Regions from separate parts of the Homo sapiens genome. Here regions 2, 3, 4, 5, 6 and 7 are each linked to region 1. Evidence: promoter capture Hi-C in 16 types of primary human blood cells and fetal thymus (Javierre and others, 2016). All regions are on one chromosome and are shown on one strand. Each heading gives the region's core, a stretch centred on a gene start or on the middle of the fragment in contact. The rest is flanking DNA. Distances are from core to core; before and after follow the strand shown. Region 1 holds the start of GNPDA2 (glucosamine-6-phosphate deaminase 2). Region 2 overlaps ATP10D (ATPase phospholipid transporting 10D (putative)). Region 3 has its middle 4.4 kb from the start of ATP10D. Region 4 holds the start of DCAF4L1 (DDB1 and CUL4 associated factor 4 like 1). Region 5 overlaps GABRB1 (gamma-aminobutyric acid type A receptor subunit beta1). Region 6 has its middle 16 kb from the start of GABRA4. Region 7 has its middle 6.2 kb from the start of ATP8A1-DT.

Region 1 (3,632 bases), core at 700-3,199:
CTTTTTATAACATGGTTTCAGCATTCCTGAGTTTTGTACCCACACACTTTACATAGAGTAATAAGTCAAATTTTCTAAATTAATGAGATTAAAAGGTCTTATTAAAATAAATGTATGGAATCTAAATGTCTTTAAGAAGGTAACAGTTTCGAATTCTGACACAACAACAAAAAATCATGGTCACCATGATCTAGAATTCTGGCCCGATAACAATTATTTATTTACAGAAAATAAATTACATAGTAAGTCATAAATTCAGTCCAACAACTGGACTCAGCCTCCACTTAAATATAATCCATAATCTAATGTCAAAAACAATTTTAGAGTTAAACCAAAGAATCAGAAAGAATTATTGGCTGTAATGAACATCAAAAGATATATTTACTTCTAACAAGAATATATGGCCAGCTGATTGTTAATAAAACGGAAAAAAAATAAGGTAAGGAGGACGAGAAGCATTAGAGCTTTCCAATGTCTTCTGCATCCTGGGCATGTTATTTTTCTCAGTTCAACACACGTTTGAAGACCTATTATATTCTAAGCACTATGCTAGGTTCTGTAGACACAAAAATGATTAACTCTATTGTCAAAGGGCTTAGAATCACTTGTCTCTGAGGTTGAAAGCATTATTCTCACTCTTCATATACAGAAAACTGCAACTACGAGAAGTTTATTGCTGACGTTAAAAAGTGGCCCGGGGAGCTGGCTTTAAAACTAAGTGTTTCTGACTCAAAGAGACATTAGCCAAAGATGTCTTACCGGTTGAGAATCACTTACGATGCTAGTTAAAAATACAGATTCTCAGGTCCCTCTCCCTAGACACAGTGTTTCAAAAGATCTGAAATGAAGTCCAAGGAATCTCTGCTTTTGCAAATTATCACAGGGGATATTCATAATCAGGTGAAATTTGTTAAGAACACCACACATCTCACTGAAACGAAGTTTAAGCAAGTCTCTCAGACCAAGGTACAGGCAACTTTTTGTTTTCTTAAACTCTCTGGAGGGCGCAGAGTCACCTCCAAAAGTCCCAAATGAATCCCTTCACCCAGAGCAAAGAAGAATTTCTTCACCACATTTAAGTTTTTAAGATTTGACTTTTCCAGTTTTTGCCAATCCTCAGAGATCCAAACTATTGTCGCCTTATGCAATTCTCTGGCATCACAAGACAGCATCAAAAAACAACAGAGCACCACCCTTTCCCTCGTCTTCCTTCAGGTGCTGATTCATTTTGGATGTGCATCGCTAGGAAAAAGGGCTGCTGAATATAAATCGCAAAACTTCAATGGTGGATGACAACTTCTACACCCGTGAAGTTACACAGCTAGTTAATGGCGGGGCCAAGACCAGAATCTACACTTGCAGAACCTCTGCTCTGAGCTTTTCCCTACTCAACCTGACCTGTCCTGAAAGCGTAAGGGTGGCCTGGCCGCGCGTGTGGGACCGACCCGAGGAGGGACGAGAGACAGCAAAGAAGGCTGTGGTTCCTGCCCGGGAGGCGGGGGCTGCAGATTCCCCTCAGCTGCGCGTTTGCCTGGCCCTCACTTGGCAAAGGACAGCGAATGCAAATGAGGATGACTGTTAGGAATTTTTAACGAGTGTAGAGAGAGGTGTCAAGAAGAAGCCGCGAGAGAGGAGAGGGCAGGGACGCCTTCTCCCGTAGGCACAAATCCGGAGAGGACAACCAGGTCCGCGAGTGGCAATACGGGAGACCCCACGCGCCCCCAGCCTCGAGGTTCCTGAGCACCCATTCCGCCCCGGCCCGGCGTCCCAGTCTCAGCACAAAGGCCGCACAGGGCGAAGTTGCCGTCGGGTCCCCCGACCCGAGTCCCCTTCTTGGCGCCCCCGCCGCACCCCCCGCTAAACTTACCGGCAGACCCAATGGTTCTTCGATGCTGGAACAGCGGGAACAAGCAACACCCAACCACCCGAGAGCGACCCCAGCTGACCAGTGGAGCGCGAATCCCACGGACCCGGATGCAGATAAAGGCGCAGGAAGGAACCGCGGCGTGGCTGGCGGGCGCTGCGCATGCGCACCGCCTTTAGGACGCCTGAGGTGAGACGCGAGGAGTTCGGTCCGAGTGCGGTGCGGCTGGGCGCTCTTCTTGCCTGGAAGATCGCAGTTTCTGGGTCATCACTTTACGCTACTTTCCCCTCCCCCCCATCTTTCAAAGAGGGATTTGCAGTAGATTCTTTAGGCTTATGAGATTTAGTATGTAAGACCGTAGTGCTCACACGTACTTTGTTGCTTATGTTGCTGTTTGGCAACATGAATATATTTGCCATTTATGAATACATTTCTCTCTCTACTCCAAGCTATTGAATGCATATTTGCAAACGCAATGACAGATAAGCGTCTTGTGTCAAAAAACTCATCAAAGTTTGCAAAAGGGCAAACAGTACCATGGGAAATCGGGAGCGTCTCAGTAAGAGAAAACACTATATAATAGGGTACTGGCTTTTGCTGAATGAGTCTAAGAAAGGGATAGGGGAAGCTGGAATCAGCTTTGAGCTGGGTATCACAGATGTTTATACAGGAGTGGGAAGGAATTGGGCTGTGGAAATTATTGTAAAGAAAGCAGCTATCATTCAAAAGGAGAAAAGTGTGTTGTGTCTTCACCATGTTCCATCAGGAACACTGTTCCATTAATAACACCGTTTAGGGTTCTGTTAGGAACAATACAATCTTGACTCCTAGCCAACTTAAGGTTCTGTTTCTGTGGAAACTACAAGTTAAAAAAATGTAAAACGCTGTGTCCTCAAACTCGTTATATGAAGTTTTTCACCTGGGTTGTAAATCCAGCCTGCTTCTTTGAATGTAATGACTCCTCTTGCATCCTTTAGTGAAGAGTAGGATGTTACATTCTCGTTGATTTAGCTTCAAACAGCAACATTGCTCACATACTGATAATAGACAGGTTTATTAGTACTATCGCCTTCAGTAAGTTTGCAAAAGCGATTTTTGGCCAGATTCGGTGACTCACGCCTGTAATCCCAGCACTTTCAGAGGTCATGGTGCATGGATGGCTTGAACCCAGGAGTTGGAGACCAGCCTGGGCAACATAGCAAGACCCTGTCTCTCCAAAAAAGATTGAGGTAAAATGATGAAGTAGTTTGTAGGCTATGCATAGAATTTAGGCTTTGTATTGTAGGCAATAGGGAGTCACTTAAGCTTTATGAATTGAAGATAAGAGACTAGAACATACGTGTTTTAGAAAGAATGCTGTAGAAAGGTGGAGACTGAATTACAGTCTTGAATTACAGATATGTGCCACATAAGGAAGTTTAGGTAAAGAATGGACTGGATATTTGGCAATGGTCCCATAAGATTATAACAGAACTGAAAAATTCCTATCACCTAGCGACATTGTAGTAAACGTAAAGTTGTAGAGCAACACCACTCGTGTTTGTGGCTACATAGGTGTAAACCTACTGTGCTTCCAGTCTCATAAAAGTCTAGCACATACAATTATGTACAGGATATAATACTTGATAATAAATGACTATGTTACTGGTATATGTATTTGCTATATTATACTCTTTATCATTATTTTAGAGTGTATTCATTCTATTTCTATTTTTATTTTTATTTATTTGTTTATTTTTTTGAGACAGAGTCTCGCACTGTCACCCAG
Region 2 (3,632 bases), core at 802-3,301, 2.8 Mb after region 1:
GCAACATTTATAATTACATGTAATGCTTCTTTGCAGGAACACACATATTTGCCTTTATCAAGAAGCTTATACACTAAACTATGTTGAACTTACATGTCAAGAAACTTATATACTAAGTTAAATGTAATTTCTGGTTTAATATTGAGTATAGCATTATTAGTATGTACGCATCTTACCCATGGCCTTATGTGTGACCATTCATTTTCAGTATTGAAGCAGCACGCTTGGCTTGCATTTTATGAAGTTGTGCTTTAAAAAAAAAGGAAAGAAAAAAAAGAGTTAAAGGAATGCACCTCTTTTCCACATCTTAAATGTAAAAGCAATACATTAAGTTCTGTGTATAGGCTTCATGATTATATGAAGTTTCATCAAAATTTAACTTTTTGATTAAAATGAAGTTCTGTTTTCTAATTCCAAAATAAGTATATGTGTTAATGGTAAAAAAAACATGGAGAGTATAAAAACACTGAAAAAATTAAAATCTGCTATTAATAGACTATCCCAAAATAACCACTGTTAATGTTTTTAAAAATATTTTATTTGAAATTCTTCCATGTTTATATATTGTATATATTCATAGTTGAGATTATACTTGTATACAGGTCTAAATCATGCTTTAAAACTTTATAAACTTTAAGCATTTTATGAGTCATTAACAATTCTTTTAAGCAACTTTTTTTTTTTTTTTTTGAAATGCAGTTTCGCTCTTGTTGCTCAGGCTGGAGTGCAATGGTGCAATCTCGGCTCACTGCAACCTCCATCTCCCGTTTTCAAGCAATTCTTCTGCCTCAGCCTCCCCAGCAGCTGGGATTACCGGCATGCGCCACCGCGCCTGGCTAATTTTGTATTTTTAGTAGAGATGGGGTTTCTCCATGTTGGTCAGGCTGGTCGCGAACTCCTGACCTGAGGTGATCTGCCCACCTCGGCCTCCTAAAGTGTTAGAATTACAGGTGTGAGCCACCATGCCCAGCCTAAACATCATTTTTAACAGCTGTCTTATATTTCCATTAGAAATAGATTTAACACAATTAGATATAATGCAGTCAACAATTTCTCTATTTCTCAACATTTGTGTAGTGACTTTCCTTTTTCTTTTTTTTTTTTTTTTTTGAGACGGAGTTTCACTCTTGTGGCCCAGGCTGGAGTGCAATGGCATGATCTCAGCTCACAGAAACCTCCGCCTCCCGGGTTCAAGCCATTCTCCTGCCTCAGCCTCCGGAGTAGCTGGGATTACAGGCATGGGCCACCACGCCCGGCTAATTTTGTATTTTTAGTAGAGATGGTGTTTCTCCATGTTGGTCAGGCTGGTCTTGAACTCCTGACCTCAGGTGATCTGCCTGCCTCAGCCTCCCAAAGTGCTGGGATTACAGGCGTGAGCCACCGCGCCCGGCTGTGTAGTGACTTTCTAAGGCTGAGTTCAGTATATTTCTACTGAGGGCCAGAGAGGACATTTTTAGAGCATATTATCCTATGGGTCTAGAGAAGTAAGACAAGTAAGAGCAGGTTAAAGTCCCCCAAAACTATATGAATGTATGCCTTCATTGAGCATTATGAATAAAGAAACTCTTTGCTACATTCTACATTCAGAGTCAAAAAAATGCTAACTCTGTCTTAAATTCTTTTTTTTAGGTTACTACTGAAGTTGAAAATATTTTTTTCCTATATATTTATAGTATATGGCTTCTGTGTTTGTTCAGGCTTTTTTTCCAACTGTGCTATTCATGTGACTATTAAACCAGAAATGAATAATTTTTAATATTTATCTTATAAGATATTAATTAATTAATTAATTTTTGAGACTGAGTTTCACTCTACTGCCCAGGCTGGAGTGCAGTGGTGTGATCTCGGCTCACTGTAACCTCTGCCTCCTGGGTTCGAGTGATTCTCATGCCTCAGCCTCCTGAGTAGCTGTGATTACAGTTGCCCGCTACCACAACTGGCTAATTTTTGTATTTTTAGTAGAAACGGGTTTCACCACATTGGCCAGGCTTGTCTCAAACTTCTGACCTCAGGCGATCCTCCCACCTCGGCCTCCCGAATTGCTGGGATTACAGGCGTGAGCCACCGCACCTGGCCTATAAGATATTAATTTAAAAAATAGACCATTGTAGCCGGGCATGGTGGCTCATGCCTGTAATCCCAGCACTTTAGGAGGCTGAGGTGGGCAGATTGCCTGAAGTCAGGAGTTCGAGACCAGCCTGACCAACGTGGAGAAATCCCGTCTCTACTAAAAATACAGAATTAGCCGGGCGTGGTGGCATGTGCCTGTAATCCCAGCTACTCAGGAGGCTGAGGCAGGAGAATCGCTTGAACCGGGGAGACCGATGTTGCAGTGAGCTGAGATTGCGCCGTTGCACTCCAGCCTGGACAACAAGAGCGAAACTCCGTCTCAAATAAAAAAAAAAATAGATCATTGTAATAATGGAACTTGTTAGGGTGATACTGAAACAATGGGGCAGAGTCCACAGATTAGCTCAAATAGGCCATGAAAATATTAGGATAAGTACCTATCTGTAGAAGTCTTAGCTTACTTTATAGTTGAATCATACTAGTATATAAAATTCTGGCAAACATAATAATATTGTATTCAAATTGACTTAAATAATTTATGACATTCATAAATAATGACATAGTTTAGGAATTAATAAAAGCCTATCTATATATGCATGAATAAGAAAATGGTAGTGGAGCAAACAGCAGGATTATTGTATGTGAATTGCCACTAACTTGCTGTGTAATCTTGGGTAAGTCATTCTTTCCAAACCTCTGTTTTCTTCTGTGTAAAATGAAGTATTTAGTTGGATATTAACATTCTTTCTGGCTTTAACATTCTGAGTTTTTTGTTTAAGCTGTTAAGCATCTTTAAAATGCTTTTCCTACTTTGAAGAAATGTTGGCATCAAACAATTCATATGTATTCTTATAAAAGCAAGAATAGCTACCATTTGTTAATCTATTATATGTCAGATGTCTTACGTACATTCCCATTAACTCCTCACAACAACCCTACAGAGCAGATGATATCATTGCCATTTTCCTCATTGGAAAACTGAGGGTCATAAGAAGTCCCACTAGGGCTGAGTGGGAGAGCCAGAATTTGAACCCATGACTCGGAAATACTCTGTTCTTTCCACTGTGCTACTTACCTCTCTCTTGGACAAATGTGATGGCTTCTTTTAACCCAGAGTTTCTCAGCAGCAGCATTTCTTGACATTTGGGACTAGATAATTATTTGTTGTGAAGGATTGTCCTGTGTATTGCTGCATATTTAACAGTATCTCTGGCTTCTTTCCACAACCAAAAATATCTCCAGATATTAGCAAATGTCCTAGGGGGCTGGAAGGGGAGGTACAATTGGCCCCATTTGAGGACCACTGCTCTAATACAACTTAAGTCATCAGTAGTATGAGGACAAACATAGTTACTTTCTCCAGCAAAATCTTTAGGCCATTTTAAGGGTCAAGATGGAATTAACCAAGTATATCTCCAGCAAAGGAACCTACCTACTTCTTCATGCAATAATACTTATTATACATTGATTGTCCCTTATTCTCTTAAGATGCATCCCATTTGAAGAGCATTTGTTGGGATGCATGGTATAGCAACAAGAACCTGATTAATGTTTGTTAATTC
Region 3 (3,632 bases), core at 574-3,073, 2.8 Mb after region 1:
GCCTCGAGGCACTGCATGTTCTCTTTCCCTGAAATGCTCCATCCCCAGACACCCTTATGGCTCTCTCGCTCACCTACTTCAGATCTTTGCTTAAATGTCACATTCTTGGTAAGACCTTCCCCAAATCAAAAGCTATCCCTCTCCCCTACTCTGGCACTCTCTCTCCTCCTCACCTTGCAGTGCTCTTCATAGCACACATTGCCATTTGTTATATTAAATATTTTACATCCATCCAATAAGGAGCAAGGCTTTTTGTTTGTTTTGTATATTCCCTGCGCCCGAAATGGTGCCTGCCACATATTCAGTGCTCTATTAATATTTGTTCAATGAATAAGTGAATGAACAAAATATACAAAGTTCTGGGTACAGAGGGGTTGAAACTGAAGACTTAATTCACTTTGGTCCAACTTTTTCTAGTGATTGTAGAATTGATTTTTAATCCACATATTTCAAATTCTTTCTGCCTTCTAAGGTTGCTTTATCCCTCAAAATTCAAATAAAATAGCTAGAACTTCCTCCTGATTACAAGATTCACAGAGAAAGGAGGGGTTAATCATTTCCTAGCCAGAATTTGTGCTTCCTGTGAATTTTTGTTGTTGTTGTTGTTGTTGTTGTTTTGTTTTGTTTTTTGAGACGGAGTCTTGCTCTGTCGCCCAGGCTGGAGTGTCGCAATCTCGGCTCATCGCAACCTCCGCCTCCCGGATTCAAGCAATTATCCTGCCTCAGCCTCCCAAGTAGCTGGGATTACAGGTGCCCACCACCATATATGGCTAATTTTTTTGTATTTTTAGTAGAGACAGGGTTTCGCCATGTTGGCCAGGCTGGTTTCGAACTCCTGACCTCAAGTGATCTGCTCGCCTCAGCCTCTCAAAGTGCTAGGATTACAGGTGTGAACTACTGCGCCCGACCTTCCCATGAATTTTTAATCCTAACTGGTCATATAGCCTCCAAGTTTGCCATCTTTTCTCTGGCCTCTTCCTCTCAGGCAGACATTCCTTCCCAACTTTCCCGACCCAATTGATAGGGGCAGTGGTCAGAGCAGACTTCGTTACAGGTTGGAGGATAATACAGCAGAGAGATTTTAGTACTTTTTCATGTGCTAGCACTCATGAAAAATGATACCTGTACAGCCTCATGAAGTAAACTAACTGATCTCTGTGGGGCTTGGTATAAAGTTTCATTGTGTTTTCCTTGTATTACAGAATTGTTAAAAACTAAAATTTGAAGTATTGAGAAAAATATTAAACTTTGAGTTCATATACAATATCCTCATAAAACATTTAAAAATTCTTATCTTTTGCTTGCTTCAGTGAACATTTTTTCTTATATGTTTTCTAATTGAGATATAACTTACATACCATAAAAATCACCCCTTTTAAGTGGTTTAATTTCAGAACATTTTCATCACACCAAATAGAAACCCTGTACCCCTTCACAGTCATGCTCCATTCCTCTCTTCCCCCAGCTCCTGGCAACTACTACTCTACTTTCGATCTCTATGGCTTTATCTATTCTGGGAATTTCATAGAAATGGAATCAAACAATATGTAGACTTTTGTGTCTAGCTTCTTTTTGGGTGCATTTTCATATGAGGTTTTATGCTTAAAATGTCTAGTTACAATTTTTGATACTTTATAATGATTCATTCAAATTCTTGATAATTACTCTCAATGAGAAATTCTGTTCACTCAAATATGTGACAAAAGCTTATGAATGACTTTTACAACCATACCAGACTGTGCAATAATTGACATTATACCTAAAGATGCTAATAGTCCTTTTTTTTATTAGTTGAACCACATAAAGCTATCATTTTTATGTCAAAACTGGTTGAATATTGGCAGTCACAATATTCCAACTAATATTTTACTGGGTAATGTAATACTGGAATTCCTTGTGATAATGTGAATGGATTTTGAATCCAGTTCAGTTTTTTATGCCAAGCTTTTATTTGCAGAACATACTGTGAAAATAAAGAATAAAGATATGTGAAAATTAAGACAGCTGCATGGGACCTGGGGTGTCTAGAGCTGTGCTGGCCCAGTCTCCTCGCCAACCCCACTGAACATTCTCTCGGCCACTTGTTGTGCTCTTCGAGAGCCTGGAACACAGGCTTCTTCATCAGATCCATGAGTTTCTTATCCATGGTGGGCTCCAGACACCCCAGGTCCCATGCAGCTGTTGCAGAGGCTGATAGTGTTATCTTGCACTGTACCCATAGCCTGTTGCCTGAGCTCTGATTTGTGAGGAATACAGCACCATAGAAAGAGAAAATAGCTTAAAAGTGAAACTTTTAAGATATTACTTTCTGAAAGTCACTCAGCCAATACCTATTCAGGGAATTGGTCATGGGTCTTATTCCACATTTGATGCAAGATTACATATCATTCCTTAGAAGCTGAATTCCATCTTCTCTCTAGGTAGAACTATCTCCCATCCTTTCACCTCTCCAAAGTTTCCAAACTCCTGCCTTCTCTGGTCACTAGGGGAAATACACATTATCCAGAGAAATGTATACTTCTTTTTCTTAACTACATTTATTCAGAAAAAGCTCTGGTACCTATCTTTGTCTAAATAAGAAACTAATCATCTTTCCTAGACTAAAGGGCCATCATTTCATACAAGGAATTGTGCTACTGTCCTATTACCAGTGTTCTTGATATTATAAACAGAATCAATAAATAGTTGACGGACTTATCCAGAACTCTGGGGCCAGCCTGGATCTCTGCTAATCTGGATTTTCCCTTTCTGATATCCTGTGTAATCATTGCATGTTAAAGGTTTTTACAAGGTTAAAAGCCAATTTGTTCTCCTATGGACGAAAGGGACTCACCTGATACAAAGGGAAGGAAATGTATTTCCTCTTTAAAAAAAAAACGCACACATAAAATTAAGATCTATGTTTACAACTAGTAATAATAATGTAGATATCCTTGTTGTTTCTAGAAATAAAGAATTTCTACTGTCAACAAGGCAGTTATAGTCATAGCATGGTTTTACCCTATCCCAACAAAAATCATTTACTATTCACTTCCCTAATTTATTGAAAGCTGTGCTGCTTAGCCCACAGTAGAGAGCTCCATTAAGAATGTGTGTTCTCAAGCCAGCTCTTTCACCTGCTGTCTTGCCATCTTGGATAAGTTGCTCTAACTCTTTGTGCCTCAGATGTCTCATCTCTAAATGAAGAATGACCTCATAGGGATGATAAGAGGAATACACGAAGTCATAGCTGTAAACTTCTTAGTACAGTGTCTAACAGAAATGGTTCACTAGCACTCAATGAATATTGAGGAAAGAAAAAAAGAGACATAAAATCCTGTGATTATGTTGTTAAAATCAGGGCTCATCTACAAGGGACAAGTTTAATTGCCTGCAGCATTGATCTTCTTCTTCTTCCTCTTCCTCTTCCTCTTCCTCTTCTTCTTCTTCTTCTTCTCCTCCTCCTCCTCCTTCTCCTTCTCCAAAAGTCAGTCAGAAAACTGATCGTGGGAAATGTCCTAATCTGTGCTTGACTCATAACAAGTACAAAGAAAAAGCAGTGGTTGATTATGAATCATAAGAAATCAGCCTGTGTGCCACTTTAGGAAATGTGAAATATTTTGAGGTAAACAAAAGTAAACCACGCTGCTTTA
Region 4 (3,632 bases), core at 568-3,067, 2.7 Mb before region 1:
AGCTGACTTCCATTTGGCAGTGGTGAAACACATTCTTCTGATACATAGAAATCCCTTGTCCCATGTTATGTTCCATGGCAAGTGTGTGGGCCTCAATCTCCTGTGCTCTCTGTGATCCCAGCTCTGGGGCCTGTAGATTCCGACAGGATCCATAGTCCAGATATCACCGGATTTCTCTGTAGTCCCTACCAACTCTCCCCAGTCCTCCAAAATTCCTGGAAATTCATAGCGTAAGGGGAGTCAGCAAGCTTTGTGGCAAAGGAAACATCCAGATGGGGACTGGAGATATCAGCCTCCTCTTGAAGACACCCCAAAACTTTACTAGTATCATGTAATAGGTACTAATGTCCTGAACAGAACATGAAAGACACTAACCATTAATGAAACAAATGGACAATTTGGATAAATTCATAATTTATTTACTTATTTTTCTTTCTTTTTGAGACAGGGTCTTATTCTGTCTCCCAGCTGGGCTGGAGTGCAGTGGGGTGATCACTGCAGCCTCAACTTTCAGGGCTCAGGTGATTTTCCCTCCAAGACTCCTAGGCTCAAGTGATTTTCCCTCCCAGTCTCCTGAGTAGCTGGGTCTACAGGTGTGCACCATACCCCGCTAATTTTTGTATTTTATTTATTTATTTATTTTTTGAGACAGAGTCTTGCTCTGTTGCCCAGGCTAGAATGCAGTGGCGCGATCTCGGCTCACTGCAAGCTCCGCCTCCCGGGTTCACGCCATTCTCTTGCCTCAGCCTCCAGAGTAGCTGGGTCTACAGGCGCCCGCCACGATGCCCGGCTAATTTTTTTAATTGTTGGTAGAGACGGGGTTTCACCGTGTTAGCCGGGATGGTCTCAATCTCTTGACCTCGTGATCCGCCTGCCTGCGCCTCCCAAAGTGCTGGGATTACAGGCGTGAGCCACTGCGCCCGGCCTAATCTTTGTATTTTTTTAGAGACAAAGTTTCACCATGCCGCCCAGGCTGGTCTCTAACTGTATTTTAAAAATACAGGCGGCCGGGCGCAGTGGCTCACGCTTGTAATCCCGGAACTTTAGGAGGCTGAGGCGGGCCGATCATGAGGTCAGCAGATCGAGACCATCTGGCTAACACGGTGAAACCCTGTCTCTACTAAAAATACAAAAAAAATTAGCCAGGCGTGGTGGCGGGCGCCTGTAGTCCCAGCCACTTGGGAGGCTGAGGCAGGAGAATGGCGTGAACGTGGGAGGCAGAGCTTGCAGTGAACCGAGATCGCGCCACTGTACTCCAGCCTGGCCGACAGAGCGAGACTCCGTCTTAAAATAAAAAATAAAAAAATAAGAAATACAGGCAGGGCGCGTGGGCTCATGCTTGTAATCCCAGCACTTTGGGAGGCTGAGGCGGACAGGCTGCTTGAGCTCAAGAGTTCCAGACTAGCATCGGCAAAGCAGGGAGACCCCATCTTTACAAAAAAAGTAGCCTGGCATGGTGTTGTGAGCCCATAGTCCCAGCTAAGTAGGGCAGAGGTAGGAGAATCACTTGAGCCCAGGAGTTCCAGGCTGCAGTGAGCCGTGGTCGTGCCACTGGACTCCAGCCTGGGTGAAAGAGCAAGACCCTGTCTCAAAAAGAGAAAGGAAAAAATTTAACATCAAGAACTTCCTTTCATCAAGACACCACTGAGAGAATACGACAACCCACAGAGTAGGAAAAGAGATTTGTAATACACATCTGTAACAATGGACTTCCTCCTAGAATAGAGAGGATAAAAAGTAGCAACACTTCCGCTTGCACCCGGACGGAACTTCCTGTCACGGAAAAGAACATCCTGTCACGGAGAAGAACATCCTGCAGAATTTCCTGTCACGAGGAACATTCCGCAGGAGGAAATGGAGGCTGAAAGGCTGCGACTCCTCGAGGAAGAGGCCAAGCTGAAAAAGGTAGCCAGAATGGGATTTAATGCATCTTCCATGCTCCGAAAAAGCCAGCTAGGTTTCCTCAACGTCACCAGTTACTCCCGTTTAGCCAACGAGCTGCGTGTGAGCTGCATGGAGCGGAAAAAGGTCCAAATTCGGAGCTTGGATCCCTCCTCTTTGGCGAGCGACCGATTTAACTTCATTCTGGCGAGTACCAACAGCGACCAGCTCTTCGTAGTGAACCAGGTCGAAGTCGAAGGCTCCAAGTACGGCATCATCAGCCTGCGAACTCTGAAGATCCCTTCGTTCCACGTGTACGTGCTCAGAAACCTCTACGTCCCCAACCGGAAGGTGAAGTCCCTGTGCTGGGCCTCGCTGAACCAGTTGGACTCTCACGTTCTGCTGTGCTTCGAGGGAATCACAGATGCTCCAAGCTGTGCAGTGCTGCTCCCAGCGTCGCGGTTCTTAAGTGTTCACACAAGAGTTAACCAGCCTGGCATGCTCTGCAGTTTCCAGATCCCAGAGGCCTGGTCCTGTGCGTGGTCCCTCAACACCCGGGCATATCACTGCTTTAGTGCAGGCTTGTCTCAGCAGGTCCTGTTGACCAGCGTGGCGACGGGACACCAGCAGTCATTTGATACCAGCAGTGATGTCTTGGCCCAGCAGTTTGCTAGTACGGCTCCTTTGCTGTTTAATGGCTGTCGCTCCGGGGAGATCTTTGCCATTGATCTGCGTTGTAGAAATCGAGGCAAGGGGTGGAGGGCCACTCGCCTGTTCCATGACTCAGCAGTGACCTCTGTGCAAATCCTCCAAGAAGAGCAATGCCTGATGGCATCAGACATGACTGGAAAGATCAAGCTGTGGGATCTGAGGGCCACTAAATGTGTAAGGCAGTACGAAGGTCACGTGAATGAGTCCGCCTATCTGCCCCTGCATGTGCACGAGGAAGAGGGAATCGTGGTGGCAGTGGGCCAGGACTGCTACACGAGAATCTGGAGCCTCCATGATGCCCACCTGCTCAGAACCATCCCTTCCCCGTACTCTGCCTCCGAGGACGACATTCCCAGCGTGGCCTTCGCTTCTCGGCTCGGGGGCATCCGGGGAGCAGCACCAGGGCTGCTCATGGCTGTCCGGCAGGACCTTTATTGTTTCCCCTTCAGCTAATTCTGCAGGTGGCAGCGCGGCCGAATGTGGATTTGACTTAAGGAAGTTAAGAGTATCTTATTACCGTTTCTGTGAGAGCATTTTAAGAGACGTGTTGTATATAGATCGCATCCATCCGGCTGCCAGGGGTAAGGTGTTAAGAGTTTTATGTGGAGACGTTCTTGTAAAGTTATTTCAGTTAAACTGTGGACTTAACTTGAAAGTCCTTTTCATAAAAGGTACCTGTTTCCTCTTGTTGAATGCCTTAGAACAGTTAACCACCTCCCCAACCCTTTTTTTTTTTAAATAATTAAGACTTTTCTAAGGACTGAAGATTGGCAAAAACTAAAATAAATTAAAGCAGCTTCTTTCACTAGTAGCCCTTTAGAGAAGCATAATGATGGTACTGGTAAGACTGTTTGACTAATCATACAGGGTCCCAGGCATCTGCGCTTGAGGAAGCCAGTGGGAGTGGAGACAAGGGAGAGGTAATTTCTCAGAGTCTCTACAGAAATATTTAAGGCTGGAGTTTGGAATCATTAAATTTGGCCTTCTCAAACTCAATAGCAGATCTCTTAAGGTTCTCCTTTTATTGTTATCATCCATAG
Region 5 (3,632 bases), core at 654-3,153, 2.7 Mb after region 1:
GTTATTGATGTATCCATTACCCAAATAGTGTACATTGTACCTAATATGTGATTTTTTTATCCCTTACCCTCCTCCCAGCCTCCCCACTTCTGAGTCTCCAACATTCCTTATACCACTGTGTATGCCTTTGCCTACCCATAGCTTAGCTCTCACTTATAAATAAGAACATGCAATATTTGATTTTCTGTTCCTGAGTTACTTCATATAGGATAATGGCCTCCAACTCCATCCAAGTTGCTGCAAGATACATTATTTTGTTCTTTTGTTCTTCTCTTTTTTTTTTTTTTTTTTTTTTTTTGAGACGGAGTCTCGCTGTGTCACCCAGGCTGGAGTGCAATGGCACGATCTCCGCTCACTGCAAGCTCCGCCTCCGGGGTTCAGGCCATTATGGTTGAGTAGTACTCCATGGTGTATATATATGCCACGTTTTTCTTTTGCCTTCATCAGTTGGTGGGCACTTAGGTTGACTCCATATCTTTGCAATTGTAAACTGTGTTGTGATAAATGTACGAATGCAGTCTTTTATATATAATGACTTCTTTTCCTTTGAGTAGATACCCAGTAGTGGGATTGCTAAATCGAATTGTATTTTTAAAAAGTCAAAAAACAATAGATGTTGTGAAATGGAAACGTTTATGCTCTGTTGGTAGGAATGTAAATTGGCACAATATCTATGGAAAACAGTATGGCGATTTCTCAGCCCACTTTTTTAACTTTCCCACATCCCCTTAAAGGACTGAGATGACAGAAGTTCCTCCAGACAGTCATACAGGTGGTAATACCCTTCCTTCTTTAGTAGGCCCAACAGCCCCTTCACCCAGCTATCTTCTTTGATCTCACTGTTCTAATCCCCACCCAAGGACTCCATGCCACCAGTCCCTAGGTTCTCTCTAGTGGCTGAGGGGGGAAAGAAAATCCCATGATGCCATTGTCCACTGGATCCAGACAGGGCTGAGAACTCACATTCCCCAGATACTACTTCCTGCTGGGCTTAGGAGAGGTAACTCATGGTTGAATTGGAATTGGAAAGGAAGGAATCTGGGTTGAATATAAGCTGTCATATTGCCACTAACCATTTCAACTAAGAAAGGAGTTTTGTATTCTAAAATCCATGAATGGGATCCATGATCTCCTGAAATTGCCATCAAATTCCATCTATCTATCTATCTATCTAGCTATCTATCTATCTATCATCTATCTATCTATCTATCTATCTATCATCTATCTATCTATCTGTGTATATTTTTCTATGGATTTTATTGGCAGGTTTTTATCAAATTCTCAAGGAGACATTTAGAATCAGTCTTACAGAATCATACCCAAACTTGGTAAAGTCCCCAATATGCCAATTAGTCCCATGTAGATTATTCTAAGTCCAATAGTAAAGAGGGTCTTAGTCTTTCAGACACTGGTGATTATATCTGGAAGCCAGTTTAAAGCAGTAAAGTTAAGACAGTTTTGTTTTCCTTTTTAAAAGCGGGGAAGGGAGTGGGGAAAAATAGCTTAAAATTTCTTACATTCTGCAAGGACAAGTTGATGGTGACCCTTTGGCACCTGGCATTCAACTTCTAAATATCAAATACATCATTTTTTATCTCTTGAAAAGGTATTACTGGCTTTAATCAAAAGTAGATCAGCATGGTGTCCACTACAAAAAGCTTATGTGGTTACCTTTGAAACACTAGCCCCTGCAATTCTAATGGAAAAAAAGATTTTTTGCTTTTTTATTTGAGGTGAACCTAAATAGAAAATGAATTTAGAAAGAGCTTCTTTGTCTCTAGCTGGTAGAGAAAAATATAGTCTTAAAATATTCCTAAAATTATTTTTAGATTTTTAAAATGTATCTGTACATTCTTCTTATGCAAGTTACTCTTATACATAATGATAACCCAGCTAGACCACTGCCAGGTGGGAGTAGAGTGAGAAGAGGAAGAGATTAGGCCATCAGCAAAGGGCCTTCATGCTGAAGACCTGAGGACAAGCCCTTCTATTACAATCTACAGTTCCCTACACATTCCCCTTAAATTAACTAAAGTTCACTCTCATAAGTATAAAGATATAAAAGCATTATCAAAAATTTATGTAGTCCTAAGACTTTCACCCACATATTAGCTATAATAATATTAGCTATAATCAAAGGATATTAATAAAAGCTTGCCAAATTTTCTAAAAGAAATATGTAGTTTTTAATGTCTTAATCATGTAATGGCTATATATAAACTTGGTCTTTCATTACACTTCATCTCTTTACACTATCTGTTATCCATTTAACAAATATGTGCTCAATTATTATTACTTGTTGTGCTATTGTTGTTGTTAAGTAGCACATAGCCAAAGCCATGTCCAGGTACCTAGAATTCAGCCATCCCCCAATTTAATCAAGGAATGCAAATTAGTAGATACAATAAGAATAAATTTGCAGCAATGACATCAGATATCACTAAACGATCCAGAGCTTAAGTCCAGTAAAGCCAGATGCACCCATTCTTTCAATGAAGCTACTAACAAACCATCAGAAATAGCACTCCACATGAGACCTGCATACCACCCTAGTTTAAAGCAATGCCACCTTACCACTTTTGTGCTGGGAATTTTTCCTCTAGCTCCCAGATGGTATTCAAAATGATTTCCTAAACTTTGTTTAACCGTGCTGTTTTTATTGGTTTCAGATGGCTATACCACTGATGACATTGAATTTTACTGGAATGGAGGAGAAGGGGCAGTCACTGGTGTTAATAAAATCGAACTTCCTCAATTTTCAATTGTTGACTACAAGATGGTGTCTAAGAAGGTGGAGTTCACAACAGGTGAGGTTGTTTCCCCCAAAATGTACTAGGGGTGCTGTGAAAGGAAGAAGATGGTTCCAACCAAATAATGGTCTGATTACTTGTCTTTTGTTTCTCAACTCAGGAGCGTATCCACGACTGTCACTAAGTTTTCGTCTAAAGAGAAACATTGGTTACTTCATTTTGCAAACCTACATGCCTTCTACACTGATTACAATTCTGTCCTGGGTGTCTTTTTGGATCAACTATGATGCATCTGCAGCCAGAGTCGCACTAGGTAATACATTCTCAGCACTGCAGAGAGCTAACAGATTTTACTTTCAAACAAATAACCAATATCAGGAATTATAGGCAAGGGCTCTCTTATAGCAAGCCAAAGAATTAGATCATCTTACAAGTCCCTGAATATAAAACATCTAAATGTAAGAATGTCCACAACGAATATTCTACAATGTACTGTCTTTTTAGCATTTTACCAAAACAAACAAACAAAAATCTTGGAATATATCTAGCACTACTTAAGTGTCTCATGGAATATATTTTTAAATTCTCATTACACTAGTTTTTACTAACTTTGGGATGACTTCCCCTTTAATGCCTGCTTTTAACAGTGAAGAACATATACAATGCACTATTTTCAAATGAATTTGGAGAAAGCTAAACCTTGTGACTAATAACAAGCTGTCAATTGCTGAGAAATACTATCCTTTGAATACTAACTAAAATTAAATCGTATCAAGCCACGTCTCCTTTAAATGGAGTTTATTACACTTGAATAAGGCACAGACAATTCATCAGCTATATTAATAATCTGTGGTCAAGACAGAATAAAAATGATTTCCTTCT
Region 6 (3,632 bases), core at 734-3,233, 2.3 Mb after region 1:
TGAACTGGAATAGTGGCAGTGGAGATAGAAATAAGAGGAAAGATTAGAGAAATATTTAGGTGGCAAGATGGACATTGTTGGTATTTGTTAGCAAGAAATGACTCCCAGATTTTTGTCTTGGTTACATGCTTGAGTGTTGTCATTCATTAAATACAGAATACAGGAAGTTGGAGGGCAGAAAACTAGAGATGATCATTGTGGGACAACCAAAAGTGCCCTATAGTCACTTAGAACAGTGCTCTGTACCTAAAATATACATTTGAAATGATAAATGGTAAATAAGACGTGGGCTAGATGAGATTCTACAAAGAAATAATAGAAGAGAGTAGAAAGTTTGTGTTAGAATATAAGGAATGCCAACTGTAAAACTTCTAATATGGACTATCATTTCAGGAAAAAATAAAATATTTTACTTTTTTTTTTTTTCTTGAGATGGAGTCTCACTCTTTTGCCCCAGCTGGAGTGTAGTGGTGTGATCTTGGCTCACTGCAACCTCTGCTTTCCAGGTTCAAGTGATTCTCCTGCCTCAGCCTCCCGGGTAGCTGGGATTACAGGCTCCCGCCACCACACCCAGCTAATTTTTTTTTTTTTTTTTTTTTGTATTTTTAGTAGAGACGAGGTTTCACCATGTTGGCCAGGCTGGTCTTGAACTCCTGACCTCAAGTGATCCACCGGCCTTGGCCTCTGAAAGTGCTGGGATTACAGGCGTGAGCCACTGCACCTAGCCAATATTTTAACTGGACTTTTAAAAATACCAGCAGTATTAACTGTAGTTCACCCTGTCACGCTATCAGATACTACCTTTTTTTTTTTTTTTTTTTTTTTTTTTTTGAGACGAGTCTCGCTCTGTTTCCCAGGCTGGAGTGCAGTGGCGTGATCTCAGCTCACTGCAAGCTCCTCCTCCCGGGTTCATGCCATTCTCCTGCCTCAGCCTCCCGAGTAGCTGGGACTACAGGCGCCCACCACCACGCCCGGCTAATTTTTTGTATTTTTTAGTAGAGACGGGGTTTCACTGTGTTAACCAGGATGGTCTCCATCTCCTGACCTCATGATCCACCCACCTCGGCCTCCCAAAGTGCTGGGATTACAGGCATGAGCCACCGCGCCCGGCCAGATACTACATTTTGTTCACTCAATATTTTTGTATATAAATATAAAACAAAATATAAATATATTCAAAATATTTATTAATTAAATTTTATATAAATTATGTATCTATAAAAAGTTAAATATATGTTTTTGTATCAAAACATCACATTTACCACACAAAATATATACCATTATGTACCCATAATAATTAAAAGTTTTAAAAACACTACCATTATAATGTATTTGCCTTACAGGCTTACCTATATAATTTTAAAGAATAACACCTAAAATTAATGCATTAACACAGGTAATCAACACTATCTACCAAGTTTAATGTGTTTAATGTGCTTACATTAAGAACAACATCAATTTTAGTTTTTTTAAGAAGAAAAAAATAGAACTTGAGAGCTAATAAGTCCAGTTGTAGAAACCAAGTTTATGACCATTGACAAGAGGCCTCTGGTTAGCCAGATGATGTCAAAGTCGTATGATAGCATAAAATCCATACCATTGTGGATTATCTCCAAAGGTACTCTGGAATTTGATTGTAGGAGTGGAGAAGTTAATTGGTTGAGGTGATTTAAGTTGGGGGGTTTTAGGGCCTGTCCACTGGATAAGGAGAAGTGTGCCAAAAACATTATGTATTGACCACTGAGTGATTGAGGTAGTACTCAACAGGTGGTCTTCAGCCTGGAACGGAAATAAATAAAACCAAGAATGTGATGGTGGTCACCATTTGATAAGCAACTGAAAGTTTCATCCAAATTCAGTATTTTTTAATGGATGTGTATACTTTGAAAGCTTCCTTTTTAAAGGCTCTACTAAACAGTTCACAAAACAAGACATTCGGATGAGCTGTGCAACTCTGTGCAGATAAACTTTACCTACCACAGCTGACATTTTAACCAGGCTTCTGCTCACCTCTGGATAAATTTGGCTGTTTTGCTGCAGATTCTCAGCCAGCCTTTGCTTTGGTGCATACTCAAGGAAGCTTTCTCAATGAGTGGCACACACTGTCTTGTCCTTCCTTTAATAAGTAATGAAACAATGCAGGAGGAATTGCAATCACCAAAGTATTTCTTTTTAAAAAAATGTTTAAGATGTAATCAGATGATCATGTTATCTGAGCAACAAACTATAATAAAATATAGCCAGTAAAGCTAACCAGACCCATTTGCTGACTATTAGAGCAGTAATAACTTTTTACATTATTTAGTTCAGATCTCTGCCTCATCCTTGCTTAAGAGATGAGAACCTGAGGGGTTAAGTAACAAAATAAAGATCACATCTAGTCAGTTAATGGTAGTTAGGTCTCCTGCCTCCTACTCTAATAGTCTGTGAATGATTGCATAACAATGATTGTGTTGCACACTAATGAAGGAAATATTGTAAGCAATGCAGAGCTTACTTTATTTTGTCAATGCAAATAAATATGATCAACTCAAATGTTGCCACATTTCCCAGTAACTTTTATTATTGTGAAATTATCATGCCATCACCATATATTCTTATTATGTAGCAAAGTTCCTGAATCTTCCTCCCCAAAGCTGGAATGTTGTTGGCTCTGACCTAGTGTCATCCTGACTCCTGAACTTCTTAGCTGTTTCACTTTTGGAACATTGCTTCTCCACTCTGGGTTTCAGTGTCATTTGCAAAATGAGGACAATGATAGTGCCTATTTCATAGGATTTTTATCAAAGATGAAATGTGTTAATACATGTTAAAACTATTTGAAGAGCTCCTGGAACATAGTTAGCACTAACAAAGTGTTAGTTCTATTAATAACTCACACAGTGGATTTTTGAACCTGACACTTTTTTTTTTTAAACTCATTGCCACTGACAGAGAGTCCTTCTTCAGCTAGAGGTAAAAATCTTAAAAGTGTTAAAACATTAGAGAGTTAACACGTTGGTGTGAATAAGTTTTAGTCAAAGTGAAAGTGAAAGCATTAGACTAGTTGCAGTTTCAATGGTAGATGAAATTCAAAGGTCAAAGTACCTAAAAATTGAGAGGAAATGCAGCTGTGTGGGAAACATTAGCAGAAAAAGGTGGGAGGGCCCAGGGACAAACTTCAAAGACTTTCCTGTTTTGCCCAAGACCTCACCTTATCATTGTTGCTGCAAAAATAAGGCCACAGGTATGAGCTGGACCCAGACCTGTGATCCCACTCAGGACTGAGGGAGCTGCAGTAGGTATTAAACCCAGCTGTGAACTGTCTGGGCGGCAACTACAGAGAAAAATGGACAGCAAGAAGGATGTGAGCTGAACTGAGGACTTCTACCTTGGGTACTGCTTGCTTGGGGCCAAAAACTAGGTGCAAGAATGAATAAGGGTAAGGTCCCAAGTAGGGTCAAATGGTTTTGTTTGACCATTTGGGAAACAGAAACATATCAGACTCAGACTCTGAGGCCAAGCTGCTCCCAAAGAGATCATTTGTGGGCATGCACATCTGTTCTGGTATGTTCCAGTCATGGTGGTGGGGTACATGAGTTTGATTAAGCCTTGCTTCACTTTGTATTTTTCATATAGTTTCAATCTTAGGG
Region 7 (3,632 bases), core at 496-2,995, 2.1 Mb before region 1:
GTTACATTATTCATAATAGCCAAAAAGGGGAAATAATGCAAATGTCCCTCAAGTGATAAATAAAATGTGGTATATTCATACCATGGTATATTCTGCAATAAAAAGTAATAAAATAACACATGCTATAACATGGATGACTTTGAAAACATGCTAAGTGAAAGAACCAGTTACAAAAGCTCACATATTGTATGATTCCAATTATATGACATGTCCAGAATAGGCAAATCTACACAAACAAAAAGATTAATGGTTGCTGAGGGATGGGGGGTGGAATGGGAGCACTGGGAGATGACAGCTGATGCAGAGTTTCTTTTTAGGGTAATAAAAAATATTGTGATGGATGCACAATTCTGTAAATATACTAATGGATTATATTAAGGTGAATTGTATGTTATGTGAATTATATCTTAATAAAGCTGTTAAAAATTTTTTAAAATTAAATCTCCAAAGGCATCAGCCAAAAAATGACCAAGTCCAGAAAATCCAAAAGAGATATCAGAGGATATTCCTATCTTGGGAGGAATTGCACTTATTAATTACTTGATATTACCTGGTTTGTCATTGTCTGGGACCCCCAAAATTATGAATTGGTCCCCTTTGGGAGAAACTTATAGTCAAGTAGGTGAGAAAAGCTTGCTCACTAATTTGTTAACTCACAATGCAGCTGGAGGTGCTTTGGAAACTCATGTCCTGGGGGTTGTTGGAGACATGGCTGAGAACCCTGCTTGTGATTGAGATTGAGGCATGGAAAGTGGATTACCACACAACCATACAATACATACACTAAGCAGTGCTGGCCACTATACTTCCAATTCTTTTGCAGAAGCACTAAAGAAACGGGTAAATTAATCTTAAGTTTTACATAATTAACATCTTTTAGTTTAACATTTAGGTTGAGATGTAAAATTCTATCTAATAGCAAAGCTGCCTGGTTATTCCAAGTGAAGATTAGGCTTTGGTATCTATAATCATGGGTGTTATATATTAATTTAATGCATAGTGTATGGTTAAAGTATCATTATACTGTTAGACTTGTAAGGGACTTTCTTTGCCCCAGCCTTCTTCATTTTGATTGCTTACTTTGTGTCACCACCTTTATATGCACAACCCTCCAATACACGAGCGAGATGTTTAGGCTCTGTTCCCAGAATGTACCTTCATTCTATGCACATTACTTTATCTCTACCTCTACCACCTGTGTACAAGTCACCATCATCGCTTGCCTGCCATACTTTCTAACTGGTCGCCCTGCTTCTATGCCTGTCTTCCATTCGTCTCACGGGAGCCACCATTATTATTATTGCTTTAAAACACAAACTGGTTCATGTTATTTCTTAAGACTCTTTGGTAGCTTCCCATGGCACTCAGGAAGAAAACCAAATCTTTATGATCCTGCCCTTGCTTGTTTCTCAGACTCAGCTTCTCTAGCCCCTCATTCGTCCACAGGGCTCAGATGATTCCAGCCTACTCCAGCTAATATTGCCCCACTATCCCCAATGCTAGACACTGCCACATTGCCTTATTCTATTTTTCTCATAGTACTTATCACTATGTGGAGTTTTCTTATTTGTTTGTTTACCTGTTTATGATAAATAGTTCTCGCTGCGTTTGTCTTGCTAATTGCAATTTGTTCAACCTTAACAACAGTGTCTGTCATACAGTCCAGGATTCATACATAGTTGTTGAATGAATGAATGTAAATGAACTGGATCCCTCAGATTGGAAACTGGAAATGAGTAGAAGGATAGGTAGTGTTCCATCTGAAGAGATAATAAGTTATGTCCTTCATAAGTATGTTTATTGGGGTATATTATTTTGTGAGAATTATTTGCATGAAATAATTTAGAACATATTTGCTTTGGAGTATTTGATATCAGCAAAACCTTGTGCCACAAAAATTAATGTCAAAATTAAGTGATCAAATTTTAAATATAAACCAATTTCAACCAAAAGTTCTAAATTTGCTGTCATTGAATAATTTAGTCACTTATTCTTACTCATAATGATAAAATCAATACTTTTCCCTCACAACTATGATTCATTTCTCATACCTGTAGTACTACTGTCTTTTCAAACACCTTAGCAAGGTCTTAATACAAAGTTATAGTGTCTTTAATGTTATTATCTTCTGCATATACTGGGTATTTCCAACAAAAAAGTACAACAATGTTTTCTTCAATATAATTGAAAATATTCTGCTCCTGTTTAAATGAAACTAGAGTTTCAAAATGCAGTTTTGTATTATATGAAAGAACTCTTGAAAGAAATTTTTAAAGAATTAGTATCTCCAGGATATTTAAAATCAGGTTCAACTCACACACAATCTTTTGGGAAAAACACTTATTGAGTATTTTATTCAAAAAGTAAATGCACATTCAAAGGGAAATGATCTGCTGTATCATAATATCTAGTGTTGGATCTTACATTCAATAGCGTTATTTCAAACAGATGAAAAGAGATTAATTAAATTATTTTTTTTTTACTTTAAAAGTTTCCTGCATATCAGAGCCAAGATGTGAAAAATTCATACTTAATTAGAAGTGCTGCTTCTTTTCCAAAGGTTACCAAACAGCATTTCAATAATGCTGGTTTCTATACAAAGTATTATTATAAAATAGTCCCTGAACTTGTGTATAAGACAATCAACATAATATTGTCATACATTTAGACATTTTTAAAAGCAGCTTTATTGAGGTAGAATTGATATACAATAAACTTCATGTGTCTAACATGTAGAATTTAAGTTCTGATACATATATATAACTGTGAAGCCATCACTACATTCAAGATAAGAAACATATCCATTCCTTCCAAAAGTTTCCTCTTGACCCATGGAATGGTTCTTATCTGTAACTAGATAAGCTTTTTCATCAGCATTCAGCACAACTTATTGAGTGCCCACCATGTTTTAGATAATGAGCAGGATATTGGAAATTGAGTGGTCAGCTGAAACAGACAGGATCCAGACTGTTATAGAATGTATGTTGCATCAGGAAGACAAATACTAATCAAATTATTATGTGAATAAATATAAAATTACCACGGTATATTGTACTCTGGGCAAGCTAGGCTGTATCTGTATATAATGATTGTATCCCCAAATATTTCTGGGCCTCCACACCTATATCAGAAACCCTTTAATGTTGCTTATAGGGCTTTTGCAATGTATCTAAAAATTTACACTAAACATTTTGTTTCTACTGCATGTTATGTCTTTTATTTTGAAAACAGTATGGTATGATGTTTGATGTATGAAAAGGATAACCAGTGGAGAAAAATATTATTATATAATTTATTTTCTTGATGTTGACCAGAAAGTCAATATTGAAAAAGAAAAAGGGAAGGAAAAAAACCTCCCAAGAAAATCTTGCTTTTTTTTCTCACCATGTCACATTAGGTGTTATTTCAAGGAGACAAAGTCACAATAATGAGGTAAAAAATATTGACGGGGGAAAGTCCAGAATTTTTATTAAAAATCAAGCATAGGCTGGGCGCAGTGGCTCATGCCTGTAATCCCAGCACTTTTGGAGGCCGAGGCAGGCAGATCACGAGGTCAGGAGATCGAGACCATCCTGGCCAACATGATGAAACCCCATCTCTACTAAAAATACAAAAATTAGCTGGGCATGGTG

What was found. The method cuts DNA at HindIII sites, captures the fragments that hold promoters and counts their contacts. A CHiCAGO score of 5 or more calls a contact.
Region 2: a contact is called between a fragment that was not itself captured here and the fragment with the promoter of GNPDA2 in region 1, in 3 of 17 cell types (non-activated CD4 T cells, naive CD8 T cells and total CD8 T cells). The highest score is 6.4, in non-activated CD4 T cells.
Region 3: a contact is called between a fragment that was not itself captured here and the fragment with the promoter of GNPDA2 in region 1, in 6 of 17 cell types (M1 macrophages, naive B cells, M2 macrophages and 3 more). The highest score is 9.0, in M1 macrophages.
Region 4: the fragment with the promoter of DCAF4L1 here is called in contact with the fragment with the promoter of GNPDA2 in region 1 in 1 of 17 cell types (non-activated CD4 T cells); the score reaches 5.7 in non-activated CD4 T cells.
Region 5: a contact is called between a fragment that was not itself captured here and the fragment with the promoter of GNPDA2 in region 1, in 2 of 17 cell types (M1 macrophages and monocytes). The highest score is 6.9, in M1 macrophages.
Region 6: a contact is called between a fragment that was not itself captured here and the fragment with the promoter of GNPDA2 in region 1, in 3 of 17 cell types (total CD8 T cells, M1 macrophages and naive CD8 T cells). The highest score is 9.5, in total CD8 T cells.
Region 7: a fragment that was not itself captured here is called in contact with the fragment with the promoter of GNPDA2 in region 1 in 1 of 17 cell types (non-activated CD4 T cells); the score reaches 5.3 in non-activated CD4 T cells.

The regions. Positions count from the first base shown.
Region 1 is chr4:44,724,607-44,728,238 of GRCh38, forward strand. GNPDA2 (glucosamine-6-phosphate deaminase 2) reads right to left here and starts at 1,950. Exons shown (of 7, transcript NM_138335.3): 1 at 1,868-1,950. RefSeq lists a silencer at 1,366-1,660 and an enhancer at 2,153-2,282. The HindIII fragment of the contact is 3,169 bases long and covers 1-3,167 here.
Region 2 is chr4:47,495,065-47,498,696 of GRCh38, forward strand. All of the region lies in intron 1 of ATP10D (ATPase phospholipid transporting 10D (putative)), which reads left to right. Among named protein-coding and RNA genes, the nearest start is that of ATP10D, 12 kb to the left of the region's middle. The HindIII fragment of the contact is 3,976 bases long and covers 64-3,632 here.
Region 3 is chr4:47,479,040-47,482,671 of GRCh38, forward strand. No RefSeq gene overlaps it. Among named protein-coding and RNA genes, the nearest start is that of ATP10D, 4.4 kb to the right of the region's middle. The HindIII fragment of the contact is 238 bases long and covers 1,705-1,942 here.
Region 4 is chr4:41,979,939-41,983,570 of GRCh38, forward strand. DCAF4L1 (DDB1 and CUL4 associated factor 4 like 1) reads left to right here and starts at 1,818. Exons shown (of 1, transcript NM_001029955.4): 1 at 1,818-3,632. The coding sequence starts at 1,855. The coding sequence ends at 3,045. RefSeq lists enhancers at 1,549-2,748, 2,308-3,080. The HindIII fragment of the contact is 3,961 bases long and covers 247-3,632 here.
Region 5 is chr4:47,400,649-47,404,280 of GRCh38, forward strand. GABRB1 (gamma-aminobutyric acid type A receptor subunit beta1) reads left to right here. Exons shown (of 9, transcript NM_000812.4): 6 at 2,670-2,807; 7 at 2,911-3,063. Among named protein-coding and RNA genes, the nearest start is that of COMMD8, 61 kb to the right of the region's middle. The HindIII fragment of the contact is 495 bases long and covers 1,657-2,151 here.
Region 6 is chr4:47,008,052-47,011,683 of GRCh38, forward strand. It overlaps a transcript of GABRB1 not described here. Among named protein-coding and RNA genes, the nearest start is that of GABRA4, 16 kb to the left of the region's middle. The HindIII fragment of the contact is 190 bases long and covers 1,889-2,078 here.
Region 7 is chr4:42,661,921-42,665,552 of GRCh38, forward strand. No RefSeq gene overlaps it. Among named protein-coding and RNA genes, the nearest start is that of ATP8A1-DT, 6.2 kb to the left of the region's middle. The HindIII fragment of the contact is 2,230 bases long and covers 631-2,860 here.